Regions from separate parts of the Homo sapiens genome. Here region 1 is linked to region 2. The links are contacts of gene promoters, found by promoter capture Hi-C in human tissues and cell types (Jung and others, 2019). All regions are on one chromosome and are shown on one strand. Each heading gives the region's core, a stretch centred on a gene start or on the middle of the fragment in contact. The rest is flanking DNA. Distances are from core to core; before and after follow the strand shown. Region 1 holds the start of IGDCC3 (immunoglobulin superfamily DCC subclass member 3). Region 2 overlaps LOC105370866 (a long non-coding RNA gene).

What was found. Contacts are between HindIII fragments. The study calls those that stand out against the background at their distance.
Region 1: a contact is called between the fragment with the promoter of IGDCC3 here and a fragment that was not itself captured in region 2, in 1 of the 25 tissues and cell types used here (hippocampus).

What each region holds. Positions count from the first base shown.
Region 1 is chr15:65,376,674-65,382,993 of GRCh38, forward strand. IGDCC3 (immunoglobulin superfamily DCC subclass member 3) reads right to left here and starts at 1,329. Exons shown (of 14, transcript NM_004884.4): 1 at 1,013-1,329. The coding sequence starts at 1,115. IGDCC4 (immunoglobulin superfamily DCC subclass member 4) reads right to left here. Exons shown (of 20, transcript NM_020962.3): 20 at 4,811-6,320. The HindIII fragment of the contact is 8,726 bases long and covers 1-3,881 here.
Region 2 is chr15:65,857,158-65,864,313 of GRCh38, forward strand. LOC105370866 (a long non-coding RNA gene) reads left to right here. Exons shown (of 3, transcript XR_932372.2): 3 at 2,462-3,326. Among named protein-coding and RNA genes, the nearest start is that of TRQ-CTG1-4, 8.4 kb to the right of the region's middle. RefSeq lists enhancers at 841-930, 991-1,070 and a silencer at 6,133-6,182. The HindIII fragment of the contact is 3,934 bases long and covers 2,024-5,957 here.

The sequences.
Region 1 (6,320 bases), core at 79-2,578, 480 kb before region 2:
TCAAACCCCTGCGCATCCTCCCCATGTCGTGAGTTCACCCGTCTTAGCCCCGAATCCAACCCTGGTATAGCTGTCGGGAATAAAGTTTTTCCTTGATGCGGACGCGAGCTTCTACTTCTTGGGAGAGGAGTGGAGAGAGAATAGCCCAGATGAGTGTCTGTGGGGAACTTGAGGTGGGAGGGTTAAGGGACTAGATTTGCACTCTCCTCCCGGGAGATGGGACCATTGCAGCCACTAAAGGGAACAGAGTGGTGGTGACCGAGCTCCAGGCAGCAGAGCCGAGCTCCAGGCAGCAGAACCGGCGGACCGCGAGAGCCAGGGCAAGGTCTCCGCGTGTGCACACTTCGGGGAAGGGCAGGGGCACGTGAGCATCCCCGCGGCTCGCTCGCTCTCGCTTTCGGTGGCTTCTCCTCTCCTTCTTGGCTCACGGGCTCTGTCCCGGGTCGCTCCCTAGCCACGCGCCGCCCTCCAGGAATCTCCCTCGTCTTCTCCTGTCTCTCCCGCGCACTCCTCAGCCCAGTACCAGCTCCAAATGCAGGTCGTGCCATCTCCGCCCAGTGCAGCCGTCAGAGTCCCGGTCTCCGCTCCCCAGGCTGCTGTCCCCTGTCTTGGCTGCCTCGGGCTATGTCCACGGCCGGGCACCCAGCACCCCAGCTCGTCCGCCTCGGTCAGCGCTTAGCCTTGCGGTCTCCCCTGGCTCGTTTCCCTCGGTCTCCACGCCAGCCCGCCCCGCTTGCTCCCGCTTCGCTGCACTCCTTGCTCCTCAGTCTGGGCTCCGGGTCCTGCCCCAGTCTTCCTCCGGGGGGTTCCGTCCTCAACACGCCCCTAGGGCCCCCAGCAGTCCGGCCTTGGTACCCTCTCCCCGTCCGGATCCGCAGGGTCCCCCCCGCGCGGGGTCCGCCCTCAGGTCCGCGCCGCTCTCCCCGGGTCCGCCCCTCGCGCCCGCTCCCTCCCTGCTCGCCCTTCCCCTGGCTCCGTCCGCAACCGCCCGGTCCGGGGCGCTTTCACTCACCCTCGCTCGGCGCGGGCAGCAGCAGCAACAGCAGCGGCAGCAGGAGCCGGGGCCAGAGCGGGGCGGGCGGGCGGCGCGGAGACGCGGCGCGCTGCACAGCCATGGGGCTCTCGGTCAGCTCGGCTCGGCGACGCGCGGCTCCCGGGCCTCTCGCGGCTCACAGCGTCCCGCGGGGCCGGCGCCGGGGCCGGGGCTGGGGCTCCGGCCGGGGCCGAGCCCAGGCGGTGGGGGACTGGGGCCGCATGCCTGCTCAGCAGCGCGGGGGGCGCAGGGGGAGCGCCGCTTGCGCCATCTTGCACCCACCCGGGCGATCTGTCAGCCTCGCCCGGGGTGCGCGCTCCACACTCGCACCGCTCGCGGCCGCCCCGCCCTCCTCCCCAGCCCGCCGCCCCCCTCCTCTCTGCTCCCGGTCCCCTCCCCCAGCCCCCTCTCCCCGGAGGCCCGGTCTGGGGAACAAAAGAGCCGGCGAGCGCTTTAAGCGGCCGGACATTCCCGGCTGCGCGGCGGACGCGCCCCCTGCGCTTTGAACTGTGGCTGGAGCGGCCGGCGCCGTCCCGGGCTGCAGCCGGGTATCCCCTCCCCGCGGGCCAGCCGGGGACCTGGGGGGCTGAGGAAGTGGACACCAGCGGACTGGGGAGTGGGTCCGGGCTGCGGAAAGACACACAGCTGCGGGATTTGCTCTGACCCACTCTTTCTGCTGCGCCCTCCTCCAAGTCCATATTTTAGAGATAATTCTCTAAAAAGCTGCGTAAAGTTGTCAAAGATTCAGTTTTCCATGGATTTCTGGTCCTTCCACTCAAAGGATAGATCCTGTAGCTGCAAGCTTGGCTTCTCTGGACCGAGGAGTCCTGGCGCTCCGCTGGGGAGGATTGCCTGGAGAGAGCAGACCCAGCAGCAGGACAATGAGAGCTCTAAAGGGGCCTGGCTTCCGACCTGGGTTCTGCCTGCTGCCTAGCCCAGTCACTCTCACTGAGCTCATCTGAAAGATGAAAATAATCTTATCTCTCCTGTTCATCCCTAGAGACCTTTAAACCGCAGAGGTCCTGACAAATGACCTGGTAACTGGAAAAGCACATAGAAAGTTAAAATTCCCAGTAACGTTTCTGTGCCACAAAGAAGGCCCTCAATCGTTCATGTCAGAGAACATATAAGGAGACAACAGAGGTCCCACGTGAGAATGTTACAGAAGATAAGCATGTCTTTTAGCAGAGACATACCCATACTAGCCCTCAGAGATCTTGAATCTCAGCCACTCTCTATTAAATGGTCTTCTGTTGAGTCCAGCATGATGGACTAGTCCATCAAAATTATTGAGCAGCTACTAAGTTCTAGGAGCTAGAGAATTAAAGCTGGCAGGCTAGGCTTAGTGGCTCACACCTGTAATCCCAGCACTTTGGGAGGCCGAGGTGGGCAGATCACTTGAACCCAGGAGTTCAAAACCAGCCTGGGCAACATGGTGAAAACCTGTCTCTACAAAAAATACAAACATTAGCCAAGCATGGCGGTGCATGCCTGGAGTCCCACTGTATTCCAGCCTGGGCAACACAGACCCTGTCTCAATAAATAAATAAATAATAAAAGTTGGCCTAATGTAGCTATTTGCTCCTTTGGCACTGGACTGGGATGGCAGAGGAAAAACTAAGTCTTTCTTTTGATACCAACTCTGGAACTTTGGGACCATGTACGAAACTAACGGTGGCTCACGCCTGTAATCCCAGCACTTTGGGAAGCTGAGGCGGGTGGATTACCTGATGTCAGGAGTTCGAGACCAGCCTGACCAATGTGATGAAACACCATCTCTACTAAAAATACAAAAAAATTAGCCGGGCGTGGTGGCAGGCGCCTGTAATCCCAGCTACTCGGGAGGCTGAGGCAGGAAAATAGCTTGAACCCGGGAGGCAAACGTTGCAGTGAGCTGAGATTGCACCATTGCACTCCAGCCTGGGCGACAGAGCAAGACTCCGTCTCGAAACAAACAAACAAACAAAAAACTAACTTTGATACGGATAAGTAAGGAAGTACAGGCCTCCAGAAATCAGAGTGCCTGTAGATGGACAGGTTTACTAATGATGAGGTTGGCATAGCTCAGGACTGTTCACTCTAGGGCAGCTACTGGAAGATGAGCCTGAGAAGCAGGACATGAGGCATGTGAACAGCGGGAAGCAATGGAAAAATTCTAGGTGGAGGACTCCAATGTGCCAAAGCCCTATTGGATTTCATTGTGAGAAAGGGTGGGAGTGGTGGTCTACTGGCCTTAGGAAAGGGAGGGGAAGGGCCCTCCCTGGGCCTAAAATCCTGGAACTCCCTCCTGCAGGGCTTGAATTCTCAACAACCCCTTCTTGGCTTGTCCTGGACTCTGAAGAGGTCAAATTGGTCTCTTGAATTGCTGTCATTTTAAATTCATTTTGACAAGTGTTTAATTCTTCTTTATCACAACCCTTGGTCTGAGAGTGATATGCAAATAATGGCTATTCTGCCGAGTGCAAAATGTGCAGTATCTCTCTGTCTGATCTGTCAATTAACTCTGGGTCTGGCCCACCACTTTGGGGGTGGTCCTGAGCAAAGCAGCCTCTAGCTCTTGATTCCCTCCAATAGAAAGCATGTTCCGGGCTCTGTAAAGATCTTAGCAGACAGCAGCTGCCAACTGTGATGCCAAGATGTGTGTGGGGTGTGAGTGTGGAGTTTTGTGTGTGAGACTGTGTGCACATTTGCATTAACGGACAGACACAAGGGTGTTTGTGAAGGCAAAGTATGCATGTGCGGGTCTCTGAGCTTGTACACACAGTGCACGTGTGTGTGATTGTGTGGCCATGAGTAATTTTGGTGACCAGAGTTATACAGGAGAATAGTTGTGGAGCCCAAATCTCTGGAGTTGTTCCCTCTTTCCTGCACCCAAAAAAGTTCAGAGAAATGTGTGCCCAGATGGAAAGAGATCCCCAGAGAGTCTAAGGAAGTGCCATCAAAGGACACATCTTTCCTAAGTTTACGTCTTTTTCCTAAGTGCCTGTTGAGGGAGGAAGATGGTTTAGTTCTTTCCCATGACCACCTGCTTTTTACCCTCAAAAACCACCATTTTGAGCCGGGCGCAGGGGCTTATGCCTGTAATTCCAGCACTTTGGGAGGCCAAGGCGGGCAGATTACCTGAGGTCAGGAGTTTGAGACCAGCCTGGCTAACATGGTGAAACCCCGTCTCTACTAAAAATACAAAAATTAGCCGGGTGTGGTGGTGCATGCCTGTAATCCCAGCTATTCGGGGGGCTGAGGCAGGAGAATCACTTGAACCCGGGAGGCAGAGGTTGCAGTGAGCCGAGATCATGCCACTGCACTCCAGCCTAGGCGACAAAGTGAGATTAGTCTGAAAAAACAAACAAACAAACAAACAAACAAACAAAACACTATTTTGGGCCAAGAGGCAGTGGCTCATGCTTGTAATCGAGCACTTTTCGAAGCTGGGGCAGGAGGATGGTTTTAGCCCAGGAGTTCGAGACCAGTCTGGGTAAGATAACGAGACCACATCTCTATAACAAAAATTTTTTTTAATATTAGCCAGGCATGGTGGCATGTGCCTGTAGTCCCAGCTACTAGGGAGGCTACAGTGACAAGACTGCTTGAACCCAGGAAGTTGAGTCTGCAGTGAGCTGTGATTGTGCCACTGCACTCCAGCCTGGGCGACAGAGAGATCCCATCTCAAAAACAACAACAACATCATTTCCCATCACAGTAAGAAATAAAATCCCTAGGGCACAAAGGCTGAGGAAATTCTAGTCATGGTCAATGGTTCCAAAAGAGAATTCCACATTTCTGGAAAATAGTTTATTAATTCATTATAAGGACAGATACATGAATCAATGCCTTAGCTTAACACTAAAGAGTATCATATTTGTAAGGAGAAAAAAAAAACGCTGGAAGGATAATTAAATAGTACAGCATAAACTAAATACAGACAAATAAATGAGCAAGTACTGATTACACTTGTCATGCATCAAGAAAAGGAAGATTTTTAATTGAGACTCAGAAAACTTAAGGCATCAATGGTAGGTGACAAAGGGATTAATACCCTGTAAAAGGCCAATAGATTCTTTTCTAATAAAAATACTGCTACAAAGACACAAACCTAACACTTCCAAATTACCCAGAGCCCAAATCATATATAGTGCTAGTGAGAAATGGCCACTTTCTTATCAACTGTGAGTTATAGGCAGATACCAGATTTATTACTTATTTGCTTTTGAGAAACAATTTTCCACCCAACCTAATGGGTTATAAATTGTCTCATTTGCAGCTATTTAATTTAAACCAGAACCTCAGTGCCTGTTAAACAAGAACATGAAAAATGACTATGTGGTATAATGCTAAGAGCCTACTGTTAAAACAGCCATTTAATTCAGGGCAGTTTTTTTTTCTTCTTTAAAAAAAAAAAATCAAACCAGCAAAATAAAATGAGGCTTTTGACCTTCAGAGCAATGATGAAACATACACAGTGGTGTTAGCCACAGCAGCGCTGAATGCTACAGAAATACTACAAGTGACAATTCTGTCTTTAACGAGATACAAAACCAACATTAATAATCTTTAGTGTTATCATAGGCTGGCTGAAGGAGGGGGAGGAGGTGGAAACGTAGGTGCAGACATCAACAGTGAGTGACACCCGAGTATAATAAACACAGATGCTTTCAGGGTTTGAGGAAGCCGCAACTGTGCTGAGAGACATTCCACCATTTAAAAAAAAAAAAAAAAAAAAGGAAAAATGGACTGGTTATTTCGAATTTGGCCCAGAAGGCAGAGTTAACTCTTGATGTGCCAATCAGACATCATTAGGGAGTAAAGACCCTAACATTCTATGCTCCTATGAGAGGGCTGAGGTGAAAAACCAAATAAATGACATTGTTTTCACTACACAGAAAATAGAAGTCAAGCTTGTCCCTGTGCGGCAGGTGAACAGAAAATGACTTGAGGATTCAATTTAAAGAAAAAACAAACTGAAATGAGCTACCCCTTTTCCTGTGCAAAGACCTCCTTGCCAGCACCCCAGAGGGTGAGATTCCTGTCATCCCCAATCCAGATCAAGTCAAGCCTCACAGGGTGGGAAGGGCCTCCCTGAACTCTCACTCCCCTTCTCTTCCTTTAGCTTCTTCTGGAAGAGAGGCCCAAATCATCTCCATCCAGTAAACTTGCCCCCCTGCATAGAAGGGAGGGCATCTTTTTATTCTGAGCCTCTGGATCACAGCCCCCTTCCCTGTCTCAAACATTCCCCTCTATGACTTGGATCCATCCATGGAGAACCCTTGGATCCCAATCCCAAAGGCAA
Region 2 (7,156 bases), core at 2,741-5,240:
TTCTGGATCATGCACTCTGCTGGCATCACATTCTAGGGCTCTCTTTGGAAATTTGGGAAGAAACTTTTTTTTTTTTTTTTGAGACAGAGTTTCACTCTTGTCACCCATGCTGGAGTGCAGTGGCGCCATCTTGGCTCAATGCAACCTCTGCCTCGTCCCCCGAGTAGCTGGGATGACAGGCACGCAACACCATGCCTAGCTAGTTTTTGTATTTTTAGTGGAGACGGGGTTTCACCATGTTGGCCAGGCTAGTCTCGAACTCCTGACCTCCAGTGATCCGCCCGCCTCGGCCTCCCAAAGTGCTGGAATTGTAGGCGTGAGCACTGCACCTAGCCTTGGGGAGAAATTTTGGCTGTCACAATAATTGGTCATTTACAGAATGTGGGCCAGGGGCATTAGATTTCTGATAATGTATGGGTAAATACATTACAGAATTTTCCCACATTCCGCACAACTTTTAATGCCCTGCTCGACATTAATGTAGATTTTTAAAAACTTGTGTGTAATAATTTGAGCCTAGCCTCTCATTCCATTTTATATATAAATATAAACTATTTTTGCATGGTTTTAATATAAACAGAATATCCAGATATGAGGCTAATGAGTAAATTGACAGAAAATAGTATTTAGCTACATTTGGAACTTTACCAAAAGTTGTTCACTGTTTCAGAAAATCATGTCTTCAACAACCAACACTTGTGGTATTTGAGTCACTGATTTAGCCCTGCATATTGCAATTCACACTGCATAATGCAATTCACACTGCATATTTTAACATCTCTGAAATCAGGATGTATCCTACAATCAATGACGTCTACAAAATACACTAGTGAATATTAGTCTGCATTTGAAGCTGTTGCATTGATTTCTTGCTTGGATTCTTATAACAACCTCCCAACTGGTCTCCCTGCTTCCATCCTTCTCCTCCTACAATGTTTTCAACAGAGCAGCCAGATTTTTCCTTTTAAAATGTAGGTCAGATCATGTCACTCCTCTGCTCAAAACCTTCTCATGTTTCACCAGTTTACTCAGAGTACAAGCCTTACAGTGGCCCATGAGGCCCTTCAAGATCTGGCTTCTTTACTTCTCTGACCCATCTCCTACTTCTGCTTTTATTTATAGTACCTGCTCTAATCCACCTCCCTGGTCCGTTTACAGACCACGCACTTGCTAGACAAGCTTCTGCCTTAGGGTCTTCACATTAGCTATTCCACCTGCCTGCGTATTTTTCCCCTAGATAATCGGTGTGATTCATTCCCTCACCTCCTTTAAATCTTTGCTCAAATGTACCTTCTAGTGAGGCTGCCTTGACTACTCTATTTTGAACTGCAAGTCACTACCCACCTCTCTACTGCTCTGAACTCTTATTTCCTTTTACCCTGTTCTACTTTAAAAAAGTCATAACAGGGCCGGGCGTGGTGGCTCAGGCCTGTAATCCCAGCACTTTGGGAGGCTGAGGTGGGCGGATCACCTGAGGTCAGGAGTTCAAGACCAGCCTGGCCAACAAGGTGAAACCCCATCTCTACAAAAACACAAAAATTAGCCGGGCATGGTGGCACGCACCTGTAATCCCAGCTACACGGGAGGCTGAGGCGGGAGAATCACTTGAACTGGGGAGGTGGAGGTTCCAGTGAGCCGAGATAGCACCATTGTACACTGTACTCCAGCCTGGGTGACAGAGCAAGACTCCACCTCAAAAAAAAAAAAAAAAAAAGATCAGAACAGTTGTCATCTTCTAATGTAATACATAACTTACTTATGTATTATGTTGATTGTGGTCTATAACCACACCACCCTGCTAGAATGTTTGCTCCATGAGGCAAGGATTTCTTTTTCTTTCTTTTCTTCCTTCCTTAATTTCCTTCCTTCCTTCCTTCCTTCCTTCTTTTCTCTCTCTCTTCTCTCCCTCTTTCTCTCTCTTCTCTCCCTCTTTCTCTTTCTTTCTCTTTCTTTCTTTCTCTCTCTAACCCTCCCCCCCGCTTTCTTTTTTTGTTTTTTTTTTTGACATGGTCTCACTCTGTGGCGCAGCTGGAGTGCAGTGGTGTGAACTTGCTCATTGCAACCTTTGCCCCCAAGGCTCAAGCGATCCTCCTACCTCAGCCACCCGAGTAGCTGGGGCCACAGGGATGCACCACGATGCCCGGCTATTTTTTTGTATTTTTAGCAGGGCCAGAGTCTCGCCATGTTGCCCAGGCTGGTCTCGAACTCCTGAGCTCAAGCGATCCACCCACCTTGGCCTCTCAAAGTGCTGAGATTACAGGCATGAGCCACTGTGCCCAGTCTAAGGCAAGGATTTCTGTCTGTATCCCTAGTAAACAGTGCCCAGCACATAGTAGGTACTCAATAAACATTGTTACATAAATGGTGATTCTGTTAGGTGCAAGTATCTAATTACTTCATTATGTCTTCTATTACACTTGTGCTCAAGCATTTACTTTTTTTTTTTTTTTTTTTTTTGTAGAGACGAGGTCTTACTACCATAGCCCAGGCTGGGCTCAACTGATCCTCCTGCCTCAGCCTCCCAAAGTGCTGGGATTACAGGTGTGAGCCACCACGCCCGCCATCAAGCATTTACTTATTGAAACACATATCTTTTTATAATGCATTATTTTCTTATTTATCCTTTATACTTATAGCATTATATTGATTTTTAAAGTGTGTGCACTCACCTATGCAGCACTCAAAAGGTTCTCTAAAATGATGGTTGACATCTTTCTTCAACTCTGGTGTTTTCCTATGTAACTTTTTCTAAGTGTAATATGTACTCAACAACTAAAATAGGATGTATGATATGTACATGCCTGCATGGGCATACAAAGACACACATACACATATATAAAATAAAGAAAACACTAAAATATCAGCAAGCTTGACTCCCAACTTAAAATTATGTGTGCAGGAAGGTATATCATAAGATAAGATCTATTGATGTCAGGATGGTAAAGACAGTGTTATGAAACGTTTGTTACAATATCAGGGTTTGGATGTTAGGATTGAGAACCTCAGGGTTAGATAATTCCAGAAGCCACTCCTGGAGCTGTGGGTAGGGATAATCCCACCCAAACTGCCTGGCTGTTTTCTGGATGGAAGGGGTGGGGTGGTGCTGGGGAGGAAACCACAATGTTGGCAGCCAGGAGGAAACAAACTTCACTTTCCAAGTTTACTGTACTTCTATATTGTTTGTGTTATTTGACTATTTTACAATGACTGTTCATTCCTTTTGTAACAAGCAAGACCAGTAAAGCTTTTTTTATTTTAAAATCTCCTATAAAATATAGAAAACAGATAAACAAAATAATAAAAATCACCTGTAATCCTATTCTGCAGAAATAACCACTGCTAACATTTTATTTTTATAACCTTTTGTTTTCAGGCATGTGTGGACTTACATAGATATTTCAATGATGGCTCTGAATAATAGGAATCATGCAGTTGGAGGTGTCATTTGTTAAGATTATTCTGGCAGCCACCAGCATGTTGGATTGAAGTGGGAGAAAACTGAGGGTAGGGTTAGGTTGTAACCAAACAGTGGAGAAGGAAATCACACCAGAGTGGTGGCTATGGGAATGGAAAGAAACATACCAAGAGATATTGTAAAGAAAGGAACCATGGGCTGGGCACAGTGGCTCATGCCTGTAATCCCAGCACTTTGGGAGGCCAAGGCAGGTGGATCACAAGGTCAGGAGATCGAGACCATCCTGGCTAACACAGTGAAACCCCGTCTTTACTAAAAATACAAAAAATTAGCTGGGCGGTGTGGCACGTGCCTGTAATCCCAGCAACTCGGGAGGCTGAGGCAGGAGAATTACTTGAACCCGGGTGGCGGAGGTTGCTGTGAGCCGAGATCGTGCCACTGCACTCCAGCCTGGGTGACAGAACAAGACTCCATCTCAAAAAAAAAAAAAAAAAAAAAAAAAAGGAAAGGAACCATGTAGGTGACTTAGTGGTTAGTGTGTATGAGAGTAGTGATAATGATTTTTGGCATCTGAGTATTCCAATCTTGCATTCAAGAATATCAAAGATGAGGGAGGACTTTCTGTTTTTGTGCTCTCCTTTTTCTTTCTTGATCTTGCTCTCTCTTTCCAGAAAACAATACAGAGCACCTGTTTAAAATGTGAAATTTGATGAGTTTTGAGATATGTATACACCTGTGAAACCATTAGCACAATAAAGATAATGAACATATCCATTATCCCTGCAAGTGTCAGCTGGGCTCAGTGGCTCACACCTGTAATCCCAGCACTTTGGGAGGCTGAGGCGGGCAGATCGCTTGAGCCCAGGAGTTTGAGACAAGGCTGAGCAATAGAGGGAGACCCCTGTCTCTACAAACATTACAAAAAAATTATCTGGGTGGGGTGGCATGTGCCTGTAGTCCCAGATACTTAGGAGGCTGGTGTGGGGAGGATCACTTGAGACTGGGAGGTCAAGGCTGCATTGAATCGTGATCTTGCCGCTGACTCCAGCCTGGGCAACAAACCCAGACCCTGTCTCCAAAAAGTCTTCATACCTTGTAATCCTTCCTGTCTTTCTCTACTCTGTCCCCAGACAACTACCAATCTGCTTTCTGCTTTCTGTCACCATAAGTCAGTTTGCATTCTGTAGACTTTATATAAATGAAATAATACAATATGTACTCTTTTTTCCCCCTCTGGCTTCTTTCACTCAGCATGATTATTTTCAGATTCATTCACATTGTTATGTTTATCAGTAGTTGATTCTTTTTTGTTAATGAATAATAGTCTATTGTGTGGATTTACCAAAATTTGCTTCCCCATTCACCTGTTTATGGACATTTGGGCTTTCAGTTTTTTCTATTGCAAATAAGACTGCTATCCGAGAATCGCTTGAACACAGGAGGCAGAGGCTTCGGTGAGCTGAGATTGTACCACTGCACTCCAGCCTGGGTGACAGAATGATACTCTGTCTCAAAAAAAAATTTTTTTAAAAAAGTCTGCTATGAACATTTGCATACAGCTTTTTGTGTGGGTATATACTTTCATTTCTTTTGGGTAAATACCTAGGGGTGGATCGATGAAGTTGCACAGTAATTATTCCCCTGTTCTAAGCCTTGGCTCCACATCTAGAAGTGTCATCTTTGTATCTTTATCTTTTTTATTTCTTTTTTTTTTTTGAGAAGGAGTCTCACTCTGTTGCCCAGGCTGGAGTGCCCTGGCGCAATCTTGGCTCACTGCAACCTCCGCTGCTCGGGTTCAAGTGATTCTCCTGCCTCAGCCTCCCGAGTACCTAGGATTACAGGTGCCCACCACCATGCCTGCTAATTGTTGTATTTTTAGTAGAGACGGGGTTTACCCATGTTGACCAGGCTGGTCTTGAACTCCTGACCTCAGGTGATCCTCCCACCTTGGCCTCCCAAAGTGTTGGGATTACAGGTGTGAGCCACCACACCTAGCCTAAGAAGTATCAGCTTTATCTTCTTTTTGCTCACCTGACAATTTAATATTGTGGTATTTTTGTTTTTACATTACCAAAAGGTCTAGTATTTTCTAAATAAATGATTGAGAAACAAAAATGAGACTCTACTAGTTTTTTTCTCCTCCTTTGAGTGAGCATAGTTCTTATCCACATGGGAGAATGCAGGAACATGATGGAGTCCCACAGAGCCAAGGCCAGTTCACTCCTCTAGGAGGCAGTAGTAAACACACAGCCATATACAGAGGCACATGGTGGGGGTGTGGGGAAAGGGGAGGAGCTGGCAATCAGTACGTAGCTAAAGAAATGACTCTGTGGTGGGATTTCAGAGGCCAATGGAGGTGTCTTTTCTGGGCTGGGTGTGGTCAAGGGTGAACAAGCTGATTTTGGTCTTGAAAGCCAGCCAGTCCACAGGAATTCTGGGAGACTGTCAGGAAAGAGGCAAACAGCCCCCAGAGAGACAGGGATCTTGTGAAGACTAAGGACCTCACAGGAGCCTGTCCCAGTCTTGCACCACTATCAGCCCCTTCATCCTAACCTTCTGTTTTTTGTCTTTATTATGATAAAATCTGAGATTTAAGTTCCTTTTAGTTTTCTTTGTGGTAAAATACACATAACAAAATTTACCATTTTAGCCATTTAAGTGTATAATTCAGTGACATTAGGTACATTTGCAATGCTGTGCAACCATCACCACTACCTCTTTTCTTTTCTTTTGAGATGGTCTCGCTCTGTCACCCAGGCTAGAGTGCAGTGGTGCGATCTTGGCTGACTGCAACCTCTGCCTCCTGTGTTCAAGCAATTCTCGTGCCTCAGCCACCTGAGTAGCTGGGATCACAGGCATGCGCCATCACATCAGCTAATTTTTGTATTTTTAGTAGTGATGGGGTTTTGCCGTGTTGGCCAGGGGTCTCGAACTCCAGACCTCAAGCAATCCTCCTGCTTTGGCCTCCCAATGTGCTGGGATCGCAGGCTTAAGCCACCACACCTGGCCTAGTACATTTATTTGTAAATATGTATATTTTATCACTTTTTTCTTTAAGACTAGCTGATACTTTAGTTACTACAAACAAATAATCAGGCCAGGTGTGGTGGCTCATGCCTGTAATCCCAGCACTTTGGGAGGGTGAGACAGGTGGATCACCAGAGGTCAAGAGGTCGAGACCAGCCTGGTCAACATGGCGAAACCCTGTCTCTACTAAAAATACAAAAATTAGCTGGGCGTGGTAGCATGTGCCTGTAATTCCAGCTACTCGGGAGGCTGAGGCAGGAGAATCGCTTGAACCTGAGAGGCAGAGGTTGCAGTGAGCCAAGATCACTCCACTGCACTCCAGCCTGGGGTGACAGAGCAAGACTGTCTCAAACAAACAAACAAAAACCCAGCCAATCAAAGCTGAGAATTTTCCTGATCATGTACACAATTTGTCACCTCATAATATACTATATATAATATGGTATTATATAGATTCTAATATATATAATATGGTATTATATAGATTCTGATATATATAATATGGTATTATATAGATTCTTATATAATATGGTGTTATATAGATTCTGATATATATAATATGGTGTTATATAGATTCTGATATATATAATATGGTGTTATATAGATTCTGATATATATAATATGGTGTTATATAGATTCTGATATATATAATATGGTGTTATATAGATTCTGATATATATAATATGGTGTTATATAGATTCTGATATATATAAT